Regions from separate parts of the Homo sapiens genome. Here regions 1, 3 and 4 are each linked to region 2. The links are contacts of gene promoters, found by promoter capture Hi-C in blood cells and fetal thymus (Javierre and others, 2016). All regions are on one chromosome and are shown on one strand. The core of a region is centred on a gene start or on the middle of the fragment in contact, and the rest is flanking DNA. Distances in the headings are between cores, read along the strand shown. Region 1 holds the start of TMEM50B (transmembrane protein 50B). Region 2 holds the start of EPCIP (exosomal polycystin 1 interacting protein). Region 3 overlaps IFNGR2 (interferon gamma receptor 2). Region 4 overlaps TMEM50B (transmembrane protein 50B).

Region 1 (4,762 bases), core at 495-2,994, 670 kb before region 2:
GAGGCTGCCTTCTGGAACATCAAGACCATTGCTGAGTGCCTGGCGGATGAGCTCATCAATGCCACCAAGGCCTCCTCCAGCTCCTATGCCATCAACAAGAAGGATGAGCTGGAGTGTGGGGACAAGTCCAACCGCTGATTTTCCTGGCTGCTGCCTAATAAACCAGTCTGCCCTTTGGGATGCCTCCCCCACCCCCCCAAAAAAAGTGATGAGATTTGGAAACTTCTAATTGTCCCCTAATATCTAGTTTTCCTTCCTTAGTACTGAAACCCCATTTTCCAGCCTTCTTTGCAATTTGGTGTAGTCAAGTGACTATTTTACTAGCAGAATGAAAACAAAAATGGTACATGCAACCCCCGCCCCTTTCAAAAGGTTCTTAAAGAGAGGAGAGTGTTCCCTTCTGTATCCTCTCTTCTGGTGGAATGCCAGCATTGTGACATATTTCAAAAGTAAATTATTCAGCACATATTTATTGAACACCTAGATCCTAGCCCATGTATAAGAGCTATAGGAGAACATTATCCAGGATGGCATTTTTGGTGATAATTCCATGATACAAAACCTTTTACTTCATTATGCCTCAAGTAAAATGCTTTTTAGATTTCCACTGATAATAACTCTACTTGGCTGGGCACAGTGGCCCACGCTTGTAATCCCAGCATTTTGGGAGGCAGAGGCGGGTGGATCACCTGAGGTCAGGAGTTCAGGATCAGCCAGGTGAAATCCCGTCTCTACTAAAAATACACAAATTAGCCAAGCATGGTGGTGCGCACCTGTAATCCCAGCTACTCGGAAGGCTGAGGTGGGAGGATTGATTGAGCGTGGGAGGTAAGAGGCTGCAGTGAGCCAAGATCACACCACTGCACTCCACCCTGGACAACAGAGCAAGACCCTGTCTCAAAACAAACAAACAAACCACCCAAAAAACAAAGCTCGACTTTCCCCCAAACAACTAAATGGTTATAGGCATTTCTGTAGGAAATTTAGACGGGGCTTCCAAACGCTGTTAAAGTTATGTTGAAAATCCAAGAGGCTGAAAGATATCTGACTATAAGAAAGACGAAAAAAAAAAAAAAAGACAAAAATCTACGTGAATAGACGGGAGAGCGCCGAGCGAAATCAGAAGACTAGTTGTATTGTGAGGATCACCTCGGGTAACCAGCACTCGCTGGGTAGCCCTGGTTTACTAACTTCAACTTTCTGGGGCTCCATTTCTGAATTGAGGGGATTAGAAAAAGGCATCTCTAAAGACCCTCCGTTCCCGAGAACCCTCCCGGAGCACCTTCCCTACTCTGGGCAGCTCGCAGACAGACAAGACTGATCGGCCATAGGCGAAGGGAAACCCTGGTCCCCCGGGTCTCGAGCTCCGTCCGCACGTAATCTCACGGTACTGCACTTCAAGTCAGCGTGCAGAAACGCAGCAGTGGGAGCCCGGCGGCGGCCGCCCACCGGCAGGGGACAGGAGAGGCCCGTCCCGCTCTGCCCGGAACCGTAGATAGCTGGGTCTGAACTCCGGCTCCGGGAGGCCTGCAGAGCAGCCCACCCCGTCCCTCGGAGCTCGCCCTGCCCCCGGCCGGCCACTTGCTGCACGCCGATTGGTCGCGAGGAGCGCCCGGCGTCCCGCTGCGCCCAGCCAACGCCCTCTCCCCGCCCCCTCGCGTCCCGCCCCGCCCCCGGCCGGCCACTTGCTGCGCTCCGATTGGTCGCTGCGGTGCACACGGCGCCTCGCCCCGCCTCACCGGCGCTCTATCCTCGCGTCTGCTCCCAGCTCCGGGCTCCCGGGGCTGAGGTGGAGCCGCGGGACGCCGGCAGGGTTGTGGCGCAGCAGTCTCCTTCCTGCGCGCGCGCCTGAAGTCGGCGTGGGCGTTTGAGGAAGCTGGGTGAGTCCTGTCTGTGGGTCTCCGGCGCCAGGCAACCGTAGAGGGCTCGCGCCCGCCGCCCGCGCGTAAGGAGGCTCCCTCGTCGGGCCCTGTCCGGCCCGGCCTTCTGGGGGCTGTGGGGCCGTCCAGCCGGGTTTTCCCTGCGTTCGGCGCCGGCCTGCAGACTCGGGCCCGCGGAGCCCCCGCCGCCCCTTCTTGCCCCTGCCCGCGTCCCTTCGGGCCGACCGTGACCGTGGCGCCGCCGCGACCCGCAAGCAGCCCGGGGAGGCTGCCCTGCCGCGCTGTCACGCCGTCAGGTTGCGTTCCTGGGGAGGGCTGGAGAGGCTCCATCTCGTGCCTTTCACCTTCTCGCGCGGCGGGCACGGAGGCGACGGTTTTCGGGACGCCCTGCTGCGGCCGCGACGCCCTCCCGAGGCCGGAGCGAGGGCCCCGGGGCGGCTCCAGCCCTTCTTCGCCCCTCCCGTTTGCCCCGAACCATTGCTAGGAGCCTGTGTTTTCTGCACTTTTCTGATTTCATTCTTACGAGAGTCAAGTACAGAGGCGGGAGGGGAAAGGGAAGGGGAACAACATTCTTTCGAGAATTATAAACCTTGAGCTCCGTTAAATAAGTAGCAGCAGAGCATTGTCACTGGAGCAGTGGTAGTCGCGGGTAGGACCGTTTCGGTTTTTAGCCAATAGGCTGGTTAAAGGTACTTAAAACAGTAAGTTGGAAGGTGCTGAAATTCTAAGGTAAATACGTGACCTTTCAAAACCAAAGCAGTGAGACGGGCTAGGCTGGGCTGCTCCCCGCTGCGCGTGCCTGGGTCGGGGGGTGCGGAGGGGCAGGGGGCGGAGGCCTCGGACGGGACGGGGTGGGAGGGAAGTGGCATCCGCATCGTCTTACATCGCGCTGTAAGACCCGATTTTCTCTTTTCGGAGGATCCCATCTCCCTTCTCAGACTCTTCATCCTACCTGCACTGTGGATCCCTTGACACTTCAGAGGCTCTGAACTCTCAGGCCGGTCACACTTTTTCATCATTTTGTTTCTTGTCTTTTAAACCTGCATGCATTTCAAACGTAGAGCAAACATTAAACTTTTTTTTTAAACTGAAGATAGTGGTGCAAGACTTTGTTATTGAAATGCAAACCAAAAGTTATCTTGAATATTTATCGCGCTGGAAAAGCAGGTTTAATTAGAGTGAGGTGGGGACGTATATTTCTTCTTCCGGAGACACAGCCTTCCCACTCACCACCCCAATCCCTCCTCTCTGTCAACTAGGGTTACAGCAGCCTTACACTGGCTAGTCTTTTCTGAATTCTGAATTCACTTCTGGGGGCCAAGGTAAAGAATTTATCGTATTTTATCCTCATTTTCCTTTTCTGTTTTTTTTGAGACAGAGTCTCCCTCGTTGACCAGGCTACAAGTACAGTGGCCCGATCTCTGCTCACTGCAGCCTGCACCTCTAGGGTTAAAGGGATTTTACAGCCTCAGCCTCCCGAGTAGCTGGGATCACAGGCGCCTGCCACCATGCCTGGCTAATTTTTATATTCTTAGTAGAGAGAGAGTTTCACCATGTTGGCCAGGCTGGTCTTGAACTCCTGACCTCAAGTGATCCGCTTGCCTCGGTCTCTGAAAGTACTGGGATTACAGGTGTGGGCACCGCGCCTGGCCTTTTAAAGTGTATTATTATTATTTTTAAATTTATTTATTTATTTATTTTTTGAGACAGAGTCTTGCTCTGTCTCCCAGGCTGGAGTGCAGTGGCAAGATCTCGGCTCACTGCAAGCTCCACGTCCTGGGTTCACGCCATTCTCCTGCCTCAGCCTCCCTAGTAGTTGGGACTACAGGCGCCCACCACCACGCCCGGCTAATTTTTTGTATTTTTAGTAAAGACGGGTTTTCACCGTGTTAGCCAGGATGGTCTCGATCTCCTGACCTCGTGATCCACCTGCCTCAGCCTCCCAAAGTGCTGGGATTACAGGCGTGAGCCACTGTGCCCGGCCTAAAGTTTATTTTTAACTTATGTATATATATATATAATTTTTGAGGCCGAGTTTTGCTCTTGTTGCCCAGGCTGGAGTGCAATGGCGCTATCGTGGCTCACTGCAACCTCCGCCTCCCAGGTTTAAACGATTCTCCTGTCTCAGCCTCCCAAGTAAACTGGGATTACAGGCGCCCGCCGCCACGCCCAGCTAATTTTTGTATTTTTAGTAGAGACTCGAACTCCTGACCTCAGGTAACCCCCCCCCGCCTCGGCCTCCCAAAGTGCTGGGATTACAGACGTGAGCCACCGTACCTAGCCCGTTTTACTTTTTAAATGATTAAAGTAACATTCAGGTTGTTTAAAACATTTAAACATGACAGAAGAATATCAAGTAAAATTCAGACAGCGCAGAGGTATGTCAAGTTAGAATTCCTTGTTTGTTCACTCTTTACATCCTCAATTCCATTCCCTAGGAGGGTATTATATTATAATATTGCTCGGCAACTGATGATAATATAAGGACACATTTCCTTCATAAGCACGTGGAGACCTACCTCATTTCCTCCCAACCCCACCCCTCACTTTGGAGACCGGGTCTCACTGTGTTGCCCAGGCTGGAGTGCAGTGGTTCCCTCACGGCTTGCTGCAGCCTTGGGCTCAAACGATCCTCCCACCTCAGCCTCCTGAGAAGCTGAGACTATAGGCGAGTGCCACCATGCCTAATTTTTGTAATTTTTGTAGAGACGGGTTTCTCATATTGCCCAGGCTGGTCTTGAATTCCTGAACTCAAGCCATCCACCTGCCTCAGCCTCTCAAAGTGCTGGGATTACAGGTGTGAGCCATCCTGCCCAGCCAACTTGCCTCATTTTCAGAATGTTGCATGGTATACCGTTGTTTGGATGTACCCTAATATACAT
Region 2 (4,884 bases), core at 2,087-4,586:
TCTCATGGTTGTGTGGGCTGTACAGGAAGCATAGCAGCATCTGCTTGGCTTCTGAAGAGGCCTCAGGAAACTTACAATCGTGGAGAAGGTGAATGGGGAGCAGGTGTGTCCCATGGGGAAAGCAGGAGTAGGTGTGGGGAAGTGCCACACACTTTTAAACAACCAGATCTCATGAGAACTCACTATCGTGAGGACAGCATCAAGCATTCATGAGAAATCCACCCTCATGATCCAATCATCTCCCACCAGGCCCCACCTCCAACATTGGGGATTACAATTCCACATGATATTTGGGCGGGGACATATATCCAAACTCTGTCACCTTGTATTGGACAGAATTAAGGCACTAGTATATAATTCAGGGTTCTTGGTTACAGGCAACAGAGTCTACTCTAGCTGGTTTAAACCAGGAATTTCTTCAGATATACAGATACTGCCTTGAGTCATTGGAAGGACTGAAGAAATGGATTCTAGACTGAACTCTGAAAGTCACCATAGAATTGAACCATCATGGGGAGCTACTACCTCATCCACAACCAGGAAGTTGCTGAATTAAGAGGCCACATTCTCCAACAGGAAGTTAGTGCCACAGTCCTCAGCTCTTGAGCCATGCCATATTGGCCACAACCAGTCAACAACTCAGTCAGAAGGCCACCCCCACAACAGACCATGCCATATCTGCTGAGACCCTGGCCAGCAAGAGATTCCCAGTACTCTCCTCTCTCTTCTCACTTAATTCATTCCCAAAGTCTCAGGATCCTCTCTCCACGTGACTTCATTCTGAATCAAGTATAAATAATAAAACTTAAATCCCATCTGAAACCTCAGCTTCAAGAGACTCTGTTGTGTTGAATAATAGAGATTTCCAGTCTCTACAGTAGAGGCAGGCAAGACAGAAAGATGTTGAAATAGAGGTTGAGTACGCCAAACCATTGGATTAGCCACAGTTGCTCTGGAAAGTTGGGGTATTCGGTGTATTGTTGGCCAGCCTTTCCCTCCCTCATCTTCAGGCATCCAGTGCACATATATTATCTCATTTTTTCCTCAGCTCTACCTTTCAACAAAGTATTATTATACCCACTTTATAGATAAGGAAACTGAGGCTTATAAAGTTTAAATAATGTGCAAGAAGGTAACAGACTCAAGGTTTGAACCAAGATCCACTTTGCTATTCTTACATGGTAGAATTCATATATGTGCTTTGCTGAAACTGATCACCCAACAATAGCAGCCTCTCTCTATTCTCAATTCCCTTTATTCTGGCTGTGATTCACTGGCTTTCCAAATGGCTGAATAGGCCTGGGACTCTTCCACCTCCAAACCTTTGCTCCAGCAATTTTCTTAATTACTTGAGTTCCTTTATCCTGTGGGCCACCGAGAAGCCATTTGTGCCAGGCTCTCTGGGTGCAGAAAGGAGGAAGGATATATCCATCAGCTTGGATCCGCAGTTCATCAAATAATCACTCCATGAGAGATCGTTGTCCTTTCCCCCACATCTGACCATGCAGATCTCAGCCATCCCTTAAGGCCTAGATCCAAAACTACCTCTCCCCAAGGACTTCACCAGTCTCCCTGGCAAAGGCCGACCTTCACTGGGATTCCCCTGCATTGTGTCTGTATCTCCCTTCAAACATTTCCCAGATGCAACTTACATAATTGCCCCTCCTATAGTATAACTTCCTTAAAGACAAGAACCATGACATTGATCTCTGTGCCCCTTAAATCTCCTGGCACAGTGCATGTGTGTGGTAAGGATTCAGTAGATGAATAATAAATAAATGAATGAATAAATTTCCCTACTGAGGTGCTCTCTTCTTTAACATATTGGAGAATCTGTATCTGGGTAATTACAAATCAATTGCTCCAGACTCCTAGTGCTTTTAATTAGCAAGATTTTTCTTTATCTCAGCAGTCCCCTTCTTGGCACTAGAGACCAGTTTCATGGAAGATAATTTTTCCACAGACAGGCAGGGGTAGGAGGTGGTTTGGGGATGATTCAAGCGATTACATTTATTGTGCACTTTGTATTATTATTGCATTATAATATATAATGAAATACTTATACCACTCACCATAATGTAGAATCAGTGAGAGCCCTGAGCTTGTTTTCTTGCAACTAGACTGTCCCATCTAGGGGTGATGGGAGACAGTGACAGATCATCAGGCATTAGATTCTCATATGGAGCATGCAACCTAGATCCCTCGCATACACAGTTCACAATAGTTCACAATAGAATAGCATTCTCAATTCAATCCTATGAGAATCTAATGCCACTGCTGATCTGACAGAAGGCAGAGCTCAGGTGGTAATGTGATTGATAGGGAGCGGCTGTAAATACAGATGAAGCTTCTTCTCTTGCTCACCCACTGCTCAACTCCTACTGTAGCATGGACTGGTACCAGTCCGTGGCCTGGAGATCGGGGACCCCTGCCTTATCTTTTTTTCCCATATTTAGTGAGACTTCATCAGTTGTTAAGGCCCAGGTATTTATCTTCCCTTAAAATACATATATTGAAACCTAATCCTTAATGTGATAGCATAGGAGGTGGAGATGTTGGAATGTGATTAGGTCATGAGGGTGGAGCCCTTATGAATGGGATTAGTGCCCTTGTAAGAAGCTGAAGAAACCACAGTTTCCCTTCCACCATGTAAGGACTCAGCTAGAAGGTGCCATCTATGAACCAGGAAGCAGACCCTCACCAGAAAACAAATCTGCCTTGATCTTGGCCTTCCCAGCCTACAGAAATAAATATGTTGTTTGTAAGTTACCCAACTAATGGTATTTTGTTATAGAAGCCCACATGGACTATCAGTTAATGTACATAGAATAATTGTTACCTATTTATTGGTTTTGTGGCTTCTAATATTTTTTTAAATGAATTTTAAAAAAGACAGAGAATAATGTCTATCTTTGGAGTTCAAATGAGTTTTTTTTCTTTGGAACAACTACGATAGGACACTTTATACAGTAGTGCAGGCATTTACCATAAGTAACAATTCATCAGACCAAAAAAGGTGGAATAAATCATGAAAGTAAAAGTATCAAGGAGTCTCCGTACTCTACATTTAATCCATTCAATTTCCTGCTAAAGTAGAATTTCTTCCATTTGTGTCAATCCTTTGGGATCAGCCTACAGCAACAGTCTCCTCAGTTTCTTCTAGAAACTTCCCAGTTTAGAACCCCAAAAGAGTGGTCAGCAGTCACCAAGGCAGGTTCTCTCCTGCGTGTAGTTAATGAGACTGGTAGGCCAGCAGCTTCCTCCTGGTTGCCATGGAAATGACCAGGCTGCTGGCCCTCCGAAGACGGAAAAGAACAGCAAGTGCAAGACCACGCATTCCACCCTGGCTTGCAGATTAAACCAGCTGTCAAGCCAGGGTGAAGGATCCGTGGCCAGGCAGAGGTCTGTGGAGTGGAGAGGCGAGGCCTCACGGTGGAACTCTCAGATGTAAGTAATTTCTGTGTTCTTCTTTTTTAAAAAGCATGTCTAGTCTGACAGTTTTTCAGAGCTTCAGAATTTCTGCTGCATGGCAGGAACTGTGACGGTTGGAAGAACCATTGTCAGGGTCACCTTCTTGTTGCATTTGCATTTCCTGAACATAATGTACATGTATGAGTGGCTTTCACTATGAAACACTTTTTTAGGCTTCCAGGCATATGAATTCCTCTTTACTGAGATTCTGCCTTTAAAATGAAAGATTTTCAGTGCATTAAGCAAAGAATGACATGGTCTTCTCATTTAAACCCTAAAAAGATAAACTCACTTAAAGCTAATATAACAGATAGCTCCTTGAAATCTTGTCTCTATTTTAAAACATCTGGCTAGACTTTTCCATTAGTCTTCAATGCTAAATAACAATTAAGGAAAAGAGATATGATATCTCTTTTCCTTATTGTGATCACAAACAAAGAAAAGTGAGAACTCCCAAAACACCGGCTGATACTGTTTCTTTGCTCTGTTTTATCTTTTAATAATATTATATTTACTGCCTATTTACACACCAGGCTTTATAGAGTTTGCTGATTAGAAAACAAAGAAAAGAAAGTAAGCTAAGATGAGCATTAACATTTGGATTGGATAGTTCGTGTTTTTAAAAAATTGGTCTTTTATTCAAAAGTGAAAAAGCATGATAAATAATGTAGCAAAAGGCAAGATGAAGAGGGGAATGTTTTAATTCAAAATGAGTAGAACATATACAGTCTTGCATTTATTTCTTTGTTTAATAAGCATATTTTTGGAAAGCTTTTAGCAAAAAGTATGTTGGTGTATACTGAGGACAGGAAATGTTTCAAAAACATTGTGCATAATATTTATAAAAAACCCACCCTTAAAAAATACCAAAAAAAAGACTTCATTTGTTTGAAAATTTTTTACCGAAAAGAGCCATCCTTGAGAAGTTTTTTGCTTTTTTTTAGTCTAAATAATGCAATATGTTTGGAAGGAAAAAAAAAGACTTTTCATTACTTTTTTTTCTGACAGAAATTGGGCATTTTCTGAAAATAACAGTTTCAATAAAGTATTTATGGAAATGAGTGCTTTTCAAGAGCTGACTTGGATTTCTCATCTTTCTTTTCCACACTAATATTTTTCACTGCTTAAAGCTGCCACATTATCAGCTTTTAAAATTCAGTGCCCAGTGGCTTGTGTCTGTGTCTGTGGGAGCTAATAGGTCAATAGGCCCCAGTGGGAAGAACAGGCAGGCCTCACAGTTCTGTGGGCGTGGGACCAAGGGGCAGCTGTGCAAAGCTGTGGATGTGAACCCCAGTGATGCAATTAACTGAGTGTCTACCAAGTCACTCAAGGGGAAAGCCTGAAGGATTTGCACTCATTGCCTAATTCACTCTCTCAAGGACTGTGTCAAGTAGAAAAGTACGGTAGCCACAT
Region 3 (5,130 bases), core at 2,295-4,794, 620 kb before region 2:
CTTTGGGAGGCTGAGGTGAGCGGATCACCTGAGGTCAGGAGTTTGAGACCAGCCTGACCAACATAGTGAAACCCCATCTCTACTAAAAATACAAAAATTAGCTGGGTGTGGTGGCGCACATCTGTAATCCCAGCTACTCTGGAGGCTGAGGCACAAAAATCGCTTGAACCCGGAAGGCAGAGGTTGCAGTGAAGTGAGATTGTGCCACTGCGCTCCAGCCTGGGCAACAGGGTGAGACTGTGTCTCTAAATAAATAAATGGGGTGGCACAGATGCACTTACCCTAACAGAGTTGATTTGCCCTCTGTCCTGCTGGGCTGAAACTCTTTCCTGTTCTCCTGCTATAGATGTATCCTCCACTCCTCGCTGGCCACCATCCTGCTGCCCAACAGAAGAAGCTCTTCTGTCTCCGATTTCCTGAACGGTCTAAGGTAAGTCTTTACAACTCCTATCTACAACTTCTTCCTCCAAACTTGTCTACTTAAGGTGCACCTAATGCATACAACAGATGCTTCACAGGGAGACTTGTGTGCATGGGGTGGGAGTGGGCCTTGTTTTTCTAACTCTTGCCACTGCAGACAGCATGGTACACAACACTTAAGAGAGTTAGCCACTTTTGCCGGACACGGTGGCTCACGCCTGTGATCTCAACCCTTTGGGAGACCAAGGTGGGTGGATCATGAGGTCAGGAGTTCGAGACCAGCCTGGCCAACATGGTGAAACCCCATCTCTACTAAAAATACAAAAATTAGCCAGGCATAGTGGTGCACGCCTGTAATCCCAGCTATTCGGGAGGCTGAGGCAGGAGAATTGCTTGAACCTGGGAGGTGGAGGTTGCAGCGAGCTGAGATCGCGCCACTGCGCTCCAGCCTGGGCGACAGAGTGAGACTCTGTCTCAAAAGAAAAAAAAAAAGCCACTTTCTTACCAGCAGTACAGGGCCCCAACTGCCTCCCATGTAGCTGGGATTATAGGTGCCTGCCACCACACTCAGCTAATTTTTGTGCTTTTAGTGGAGACAGGCTTTCACCATGTTGGCCAGGCTGGTCTCGAACTCCTGACCTCAGGTGATCTGCCTGCCTCGGCCTCCCAAAGTGCTGGGATTACAGGTGTGAGCCACCGTGCCCAGCCTATAAATGGATTTTAAATACATATCCTTTGAACAACAGAGCCCGACAGTACTGACACAATCAGATGACTTGCGTGCTCAGTAGATAACATTACTATTGATTAATCAGTTAATTCTCTTTATTGCCCACAAATCCCTGCCTTGGTCAACACAGTGTGACTTGTCACATATAAATGAAGTGCTAATGTGCCTTCTGCAAATCCCCCTTATAACTTTTATATTTTTGAGACAGGGTCTCTTGCTCTGTTGCCAAGGCTGGAATGTAGTGGTGTAATCATTGCTCACTGCAGCCTTGAACTCCTAACTCCTAGGCTCAAATGATCCTCTGGTCTCAGCCTCCTGAGTAGCTGGGACTACGGGTGTGCACCACCACGACTAGCTAATTTTTTATTTTTTGTGAAAACAAGGTCTCACTATGTTGCCCAGGCTGTTCTCAAACTCCTGGCCTCAAGCGATCCTCCCATCTTGACCTCCCAAAGTGCTGGGATTACAGGCATGAGCCACCATGCCCAGCCCTCTTTTTTTTTTTTTTTTTGAGATAGGGTCTCGCTCTGCCTCCCACGCTGGAGTGCAGTGGCATCATTTCGGCTCATGGTAACCTCCGCCTCCCAGGCTAAAGCATCCTCCCACTTTAGCCTCTCAAGTAGCTGGGACTACAGGTGCATGTCATCATGCCTGGATAATTTTTGCATTTTTCATAGAGACAGGGTTTCACCATGTTGCCCAGGTGGGTCTAGAACTCCTGGCCTCAAGTGATCCACCCACCTCAGCCTCCCAAAGTGCTGGGATTATAGGCGTGGGCCACTGCACTAGGCCCTGGCCTTCTTTATAACCTTTGGAGGATCAAGTGACATCCATAGGAAGTGTTTGCTGAGTTCCCATGAGGCCTCAGTAGCTCTAGCAGGTGTTATTTAAGAAAAAACAAGTTTAGATTGAGTAATTTTAGAAAGCTGAAACTCTGCAGAAAATAGGCTACAATAAAGAAAACACTTCACATAGACTTTAAAAAACATGCACTATACAATCTTTTATTTCCAGTTTAAAAACAAAATCTTAAATTACTAGGAGTATATTTACAAGATTAATTACATTTTAAGCCAGCACACCATGGATGTACATGAAGGGCCACTCGGTGTCCCTCGCTGGGACAGGTTGTGTGACCTGCCCAAGGGGCTCCGGCTCATTTGCCAAAGTCAAGACGACGACCAGGTCTTCTGACTGCTCAGCCCAACCAATAATGAAAAAAGTATCAGAGATGTGTCATATCCATTTTGCTAACAAGCAATTACATGCCTTTTTAGTGTTTAAGAGAAGCCTTAATTTTCCTGGGATATCTCCGTAAAATCATTCTGGAATTTGATTTTGAAAATTCTTTAAGAAAAAAAAAAAAAGCTTGTCACCCCCATGAGACCTGCTGTCTCTCATGTCTGCAGGGACAGGCCTTTTAGAGGCAGCAAAAGGGAATACTGGTCTCTGGAAAGTCCAGACAGAACTCTAGCAGCTCCGATGGCTTGATCTCTTCCAGGGAGCCAGTGGGCTAGGCCCATGCTTTGGTTCAAAGCGTTTGGAGAACATCTTCTTGCTCCTTTTCCGGAAACGAGATAATGGACACAGAGTCCCAGACGTCATCCTTTGGTGAGCTGTCCTTGTCCAAGGCCTCTAAGATGGGCTGAGTTGGGTCTTTTAAATACTTGAGGAGGTTGGAAAGCAAAATTGTAATTAGTTTACCAGTTCAGTATACCAGACCTTTTAACTTTAGTTTTTGTTTTTATTTTATTTTTATTTTTATTTTTTTTTTGAGATGGAGTCTTACTCTTGCCTAGGCTGGAGTATAGTGGTGTGATCTCAGCTCACTGCAACCTCTGCTTCCCAGGTTCAAGCGATTCTCCTGCCTCAATCCTCCAAGTAGCTGGGACTACAGGTGCCCACCACCTTGCCTGGCTAATTTTGTATTTTTAGTAGAGACAGGGTTTCACTATGTTGGCCACGCTGGTCTCAAACTCCTGATCGCAAATGATCCACCCACCTTGGCCTCCCAAAGTGCTGGGATTATAGGCGTGAGCCACTACGCCTGGCCTACTTTAGTTTTAATTGGTATAGTTATTTTATTCAGATATAAGTTGATTCTGTCCACCAATGACATAACTTATTTTTCTTTTTATTCAACAATGAAACAATTTTTTTTTTTTGAGACGGAGTTTCACGTTGTTGCCCAGGCTGGAGTGCAATGACACGATCTCATCTCACTGCAACCTCTGCCTCAGCCTCCCAAGTAGCTGGGATTACAGGCATGCACCACCACACCCTGCTAATTTTGTATTTTAAGTAGAGACGGGGTTTCCCATGTTGGTCAGGCTGTCTCGAACTCCTGACCTCAGGTGATCCGCCCGCCTCGGCCTCCCAAAGTGCTGGGATTGCAGGTGTGAGCCACTGCACCCGGCAACAATTTTTTATTGTTGTTGAGTCAGTCTCTTTTTCGCCCAGGCTGGAGTGCAGTGGCGCGATCTCGGCTCACTGCAACTTCCGCCTCCTGGGTTCAAGCAATTCTCCTGCCTCAGCTTCCCAACCAAGTAGCTAGGATTGCAGGCGTGCACCACCACGGCTGGCTAATTTTTTTTTTTTTTTTTTTTTTTTTGAGACGGAGTCTTGCTCTGTTGCCAGGCTGGAGTGCAGTGGCGTGGATCTCAGCTCACTGCAGCCTCCGCCTCCTGGGTTCAAGTGATTCTCCTGCCTCAGCCTCCCAAGTAGCTGGGACTACAGGCGCATGCCACCATGCCTGGGTAATTTTTGTATTTTTAGTAGAGACAGGGTTTCACCCTGTTGGCCAGGATGGTCTCGATCTCCTGACTTCATGATCCACCCACCTCGGCCTCTCAAAGTGCTGGGATTACAGGCATGAGCCACCTCACCCAGCCAACAACTTCTAATAGTTGAATACTCCTTACCCCTCATCTCAGTAATCACTTTAATACTCATCCCAGGGCTGACCATGTTAATATGCTGAGAGTTTAAAAGGGCAAAACTCAGGAAAAGCAAGTTTTGTTTTTTTCTTCTGATTTTCTGATTGGAAGAAAAGCAAGTTCTTCCTTGCAACCCTCAGTGTAGGCCTGTGGGTTATTAATCTTAAGACGTCTCTAAAATTGTAACCTTTCAGTGAAGGAGGGACTGGGGGCTCTTGTTCAGCTGTGATGGGGAAAAAGAGGGCAAGTTCACAAGCATTGGTCTCAGGCACTCCTCCACCCCTCCCCTTGCACCAGCGCACAGCAAGCAGAGAATCTGGGAGCGAGGGCCTTAGGCCTTAACATATAAAGGGGTGTTTCCCAGCGATTAATTTCCCTTTTGCTCCCGCAGGCTTTAGGCTTAGCCATAGATTCACCAAGTTACCAAGAATCTAGTGTCTAGCTCTTGGAAATGCTGAAAGATACTGGAAGACAATAAGCTTGTAGCTGACTGACTGAAAGAGGAACAAAACCAAAACATGTACCCTTGTGAAACCCCAGAATTATAAGTGAAACATGATTCACTGTTCCCATGTAACTCAGAGACCTTTGGCGGATGTTCTTTATGCTTTCCTAGAAAAGTGAACTGACAGGCCTGTGTTTTCTGTTCATGTCTCAGAGGAATGACTCATAGTATATTCATGTACTGGGGCTCAGCTGGTAGTTCTACCAGGAGAGAGAGAGATTATTACTGCAAGTAAGATTCTGAGACCTGTTAGGAGCTGTGATTTTGTGACAATATTAACCAGGGAGGTTCTAGTAGGGAATCTGTATACTGCCTGTGTACCTACAATACATCATGGCAGATGAAGGAACAAGTGACTAGGGTTCTTTCTGAAAGTGCTGCTATGTTTCTGCAGACTTGGACCTTATCTAACCTCTGTTCATCCCACATGTAACTGAGTAACATTCTGCTTCCAACACCTTTACTCTAGGTTTACCCAAGAATAATGTGAAGCCTCCAGAAGCAAATGCTTTTTATTTATTTTATTTTTTTGAGATGGA
Region 4 (4,733 bases), core at 2,067-4,566, 640 kb before region 2:
TTTTTTAAAGATAGCTTCATTGAGATATAATTTGCATACCATATAATTCAGCCATTTAAAATATGCAGTTCAGTGTTTTTAGTATTTTCACAGAATTATGCTACCATCATCACAATCCAATTTGAGAATATTTTTATCACTGCCATACCCATTAGCAGTCACTCCCCATTACTCCTTCCCCTAGCCCTAGGCAGCCACTAATGTACTTTCTGTCTGTATCTATTTCATACACATGGAATCTTATAGGAAAGTGTTTTTTTGAGACAGAACCTTGCTCTGTCGCCCAGGCTGGAGTGCAGTGGCGTGATCTCGGCTCACTGCAACCTCTGCCTCCCAGGTTCAAGCAATTCTCCTTTCTCAGCCTCCTAAGTAGCTGGGACTGCAGGTGCATGCCACCACGCCCAGATAATTTTTGTATTTTTAGTAGAGATGGGGTTTCACCATATTGGTCAGGCTGGTCTCGAATTCCTGACCTCAGGTGATCCACCCACCTCAGCCTCCCAAAGTGCTGGTATTACAGGCGTGAGCCACTGTGCCCAGCCGGAAAGTGTGTTTTAAACTCATTTTATCCCTGACTGTAAGAAGGGTGGGCTGCTGTCACTGATTTTCTTAAAAGGTCTCCATAGTTATGTTAAAGAAAAACTTTAGATAAATTAGCAATTTGAGCAAACCAAGAAGAGGTTCGGAGAGCTTCACCCAGCAGCATGAGCAGCTGTAGGCTGAACACAAGGCAAAGACAAGAAATTTTTAGATTGTCTGTAGCTATATGTTTGTCTTATTTGTGCATGGTCTCATCAGTTGGCTGCTTGGGATTGGCTAAAGCTTAGCCGTTTGTGATTGACTAAAATTCAGCTATTTATTAAAAAATATAACCCTAGGTTTCAGTTCGTTTACGTAAGTTAGGTTCCGGGGGGTGGGTTGGGGTCACACAGGAACTCAGAGTAGGGAGATAGCCTCAGGTTAATGGCTTCCTGCTTATTTACTTTAGCAGTTGAAGTGATCCATGAGCTTTACAGTTTCTATAGTGAAAATAGGGATAAATTGCCATTTCTGTAAGGTATGTAGGGAAATATTGTTTGTAAAGGCTTTACTATTGTTGAGTGTATTTTTTTTTTTTTTTTTGAGTTGGAGTTTCACTCTTGTCGCCCAGGCTGGAGTGCAATGGCACAGTCTCGGCTCACTGCAACCTCTGCCTCCCGGGTTCAAGCGATTCTCCTGCCTCAGCTTCCCGAATAGCTGGGATTATAGCCGCCTGCCACGACTCCCAGCTAATTTTTTGTATTTTTAGTAGAGACAGGGTTTCACCATGTTGGCCAAGCTGGTCTTGAAGTCCTGATCTCAGACGATCTACCCACCTTGGCCTCCCAAAGTGTTGGGATTACAGGCATGAACCACCGCTCCCAGCCAATTGTATCTTAATATTTAAAGAACTAGTAAATATTGATAAATTTCTTGATTGTGAATTTCATCTTTCTATTTCAACAGCATTACTCATTTAAATATACTTTTCTTTTTTTTTTAAGATGGAGTTTCGCCCTGTCGTCCAGGCTAGAGTGCAGTGGTATAGTCTTGGCCCACGGCAACCTCTGCCTCCTGGGTTCAAGTGATTCTCCTGTCTCAATCTCCCAAGTAGCTGGGATTACAGCCATCCACCACCACACTTGGCTAATTTTGTATTTTTAGTAGAGACAGGGTTTCCCCATGTTGGCCAGGCTGGTCTCAAACTCCTGACCTCAAGTGATCTACCCGCCTCGGCCCCCCAAAGTGCTGGGATTACAAGCGTGAGTCACCACACCCAGCCTAAATATACTTTTCTATTTGTAAAGTGAATATGACTTTATTTCAGAGAGCATTTCTAGGCCATGTTTCAAATCTTTTACTGTACAGATTTGCTTGAACTATTAATATTCATAGTAATAGCTAACTTTTATATATTACTTTATAGGCTAGATACTGTTCTAAGCACTATATAGAGTCACTCATCTAATTCTTACACTCTGGAGTAGGTGCTATTACAATGCCCGTTTTACAGGTGAGGAAATGAAGATATGCTGAGGTTAAATAATTTGCCCAAGGTCATACAGTTAGTCATTGGTATAGATAGGATTCAAACCTGGGTCTGGCTCAAACTTGGAGCTCTTAACCATGCTGCTGTATTGTTTGCTATGATATCAAGAGCTCAGAATTGAACCAGTTTCTTCATCTTCTCCAGTATTTTTTAAATCAACATTTGTAGTTTTACAAAAGTTAATAATCCACAAAAATTTAAGTAGTTTCCATTTTGTTTCTTTTCTTTTCCTATAAAGATAGTAACCATTTCCTCCAGGATAGATTCAGTGAAAGAGAATGATAAATTCTAACTGTGTTATTTATATCTGACATATTTGCATGATAAAACTCCTGGATTGAGAGCCAGGCATTGTGGTGTGTGCCTGTAGTCCCATCCACTTGGGACGCTGAGGCAGGAGGATCACTTGAGCCCAGGAGTTTGGGCTGTAGTTTGCTATGATTGTGCCTGTCAGTAGCTGCTGCACTCCAGTCTGGGCAATATAGTGAGGCCCCATTTCTTTAAAAACAAACACAAAAAACCTCTTGAATTCATGAAAGAAAATAAATTAACAGACTGTTTAAAAGTCAAGAATTTATTTTGTATGTTTTTACGATTTTGCATTTCAGTGTTGGCCATAGGAGGCAAAGGAGCAAGTTACTGCTTCCTCAGCAGTTTTGATGTAGCTAGAACCAGCAATTACTTTGACTAAAAGAAAACTTTGTAAGTTCATTGACTTTTATCCAGAGTAAGAGCAGTCCTTTGCTTTGGGGGAATTAAATTGGCATTTTCTTCTTTCAGTTTCATTATAGATGTCTTACAGTTAATGAATAATAGCAGTATGTTGTAATATACAAAATGTATCATTATGAATGGCACTGATACTTTATTACTGCCGTTTGCCTATATAACCGTCTAATCTGTTTTACTTTGTGTATGTAGATACTGATGTTTATCCGGGACTAGCTGTGTTTTTTCAAAATGCACTTATATTTTTTAGGTAAGTTGCCTTATTTTTTAACCACGCCTGTAACATTTACAGAAATGTCAACTTAATTAAGGCAGCATATATATGGAACACATATAAATCCCATGGATTGGTTACAATGATAGAACTTCTTTTAAAAGGTGAGAATTCCACTGTTACATAAGAGCAGAGAGGCCTTTTAACTAGAGGTCTTGCTGTGTATCAAGACTTTAGCTGGATCCTTTATATATTTTACCCTTTGAATTCACATTTAGGCCAAGTGCTGTGGCTCATGCCTGTAATCCCAGCACTTTGGGAGGCTGAAGTGGGTGGATTGCTTAAGTCTAGGAGTTTAAGACCAGCCTGGGCAACATGGCAAAACCCTGTCTCTATAAAAAAATATAAAAATTATCTGGTTGTGGTGGTGTACAGTGCCAGCTACTCAAGAGGCTGAGGTGGGAGGATTGCTTGAGCCGAGGAGGTTGAGGCTGCAGTGAGGCAAGGCTGCACCACTGTACTCCAGCCTGGGCAATAGAGTGAGACCAAAATAAAATAAAATAATGCATTTAATTATTTTAAATATATGTCAGGTGTTATTCCCATTTTATTTATTTTTATTTTTATTTATTTATTTATTTTTTGCGAGGGAGTCTCACCCTGTAGCCCAAGCTGCCTTAGTGCAGTGGAACAATCTCGGCTCACTGCAGCCTCCGCCTCGGGACTCAGGCGATTCCCATGCCTCAGCCTCCCGAGTAGGTGGGACTACAGGTGCACACCACCACACCCAGCTAATTTTTTGTATTTTAGTAGAGACGAGGTTTCACCATATTGCCCAGAGTGGTCTCGAACTCCTGAGCTCAGACAATTTGCCTGCCTCGGCCTCCCAAAGTGCTGGGATTATAGCCACCACACCCAGTGTTATTCCCATTTTATAGATGAGGAAATAAAGTTTAGGGCTTGCTTTAGGATGCCTAGCTAGTAAATGAGAAGCCTGGATTTGAATCCAGACTGCTGCTTCCATAGCCTGTGTCTTATTAAAAAACCCTATCAGACCCATTGTTTCACTTGACTAGCCTTTCGGGAAAAAAAAAATTAACAACAACAGGTAAAGTACCTTTATGAAGAAAAAAGGAAAAACCAGAATTAATACCTAGTGGCCAGCCAGGTGTGGTGGCTCATGTCTGTAATCCCAGCACTTTGGGAGGCTGAAGTGGGTGGATCATCTGAGGTCAGGGGTTCGAGACCAGCCTGGCCAACATGGTGAAACCCCATCTCTAATAAAAATACAAACATTAGTCGGGCATGGTGGTGTGTGCCTGTAATCCCAGCTACTCGGAAGGCTGAGGCAGGAGAACCACTTGAACCCAGGAGACACGGGGGTTGGAGTGAGTCGAGATAGTGCCACTGCATTTCAGCTTGGGTGACAGAGCAAGACTCCATATCAAAATAATAATAATAATTAATACATAGTATGCATATTATATACAAAACCTGTTGGGAAATTCTGTTTTCTGAATGCCCTTTTAAGAAAAGTTAAAGTAAGTGGAAAAATAAACCAATATTAAAAGTATTTTTTAGGGGCAGTCTTCTAAAATATCCCCAAAATGAAGTCCATTCTATGCTTTTTAGAATGAATGTCTTTTTTTTTTTTTTTTTTGAGCTGGATTCTCGCTCTGTTGCCCAGGCTGATGTGCAGTGGTGCAATCTCAGCTCAATGCA

The links. Contacts are between HindIII fragments. The CHiCAGO score rates a contact against its expected background, and 5 or more counts as called.
Region 1: a contact is called between the fragment with the promoter of TMEM50B here and the fragment with the promoter of EPCIP in region 2, in 13 of 17 cell types (naive CD8 T cells, total CD4 T cells, non-activated CD4 T cells and 10 more). The highest score is 15.1, in naive CD8 T cells.
Region 3: a fragment that was not itself captured here is called in contact with the fragment with the promoter of EPCIP in region 2 in 2 of 17 cell types (non-activated CD4 T cells and fetal thymus); the score reaches 7.4 in non-activated CD4 T cells.
Region 4: a contact is called between a fragment that was not itself captured here and the fragment with the promoter of EPCIP in region 2, in 3 of 17 cell types (total CD4 T cells, monocytes and non-activated CD4 T cells). The highest score is 5.5, in total CD4 T cells.

Annotation. Positions count from the first base shown.
Region 1 is chr21:33,476,956-33,481,717 of GRCh38, reverse strand. It overlaps TMEM50B (transmembrane protein 50B), which reads left to right and starts at 1,744. Exons shown (of 7, transcript NM_006134.7): 1 at 1,744-1,880. It also overlaps the pseudogene RPS5P3. The HindIII fragment of the contact is 5,416 bases long and covers 1-4,762 here.
Region 2 is chr21:32,812,155-32,817,038 of GRCh38, reverse strand. It overlaps EPCIP (exosomal polycystin 1 interacting protein), which reads left to right and starts at 3,336. Exons shown (of 4, transcript NM_001162495.3): 1 at 3,336-3,447. The HindIII fragment of the contact is 1,895 bases long and covers 2,350-4,244 here.
Region 3 is chr21:33,434,514-33,439,643 of GRCh38, reverse strand. IFNGR2 (interferon gamma receptor 2) reads right to left here. Exons shown (of 7, transcript NM_005534.4): 7 at 2,128-2,816. The coding sequence ends at 2,682. It also overlaps a transcript of TMEM50B not described here. Among named protein-coding and RNA genes, the nearest start is that of IFNGR2, 34 kb to the right of the region's middle. The HindIII fragment of the contact is 2,047 bases long and covers 2,521-4,567 here.
Region 4 is chr21:33,454,041-33,458,773 of GRCh38, reverse strand. It overlaps TMEM50B (transmembrane protein 50B), which reads left to right. Exons shown (of 7, transcript NM_006134.7): 6 at 2,990-3,047. Among named protein-coding and RNA genes, the nearest start is that of TMEM50B, 24 kb to the left of the region's middle. The HindIII fragment of the contact is 4,983 bases long and covers 825-4,733 here.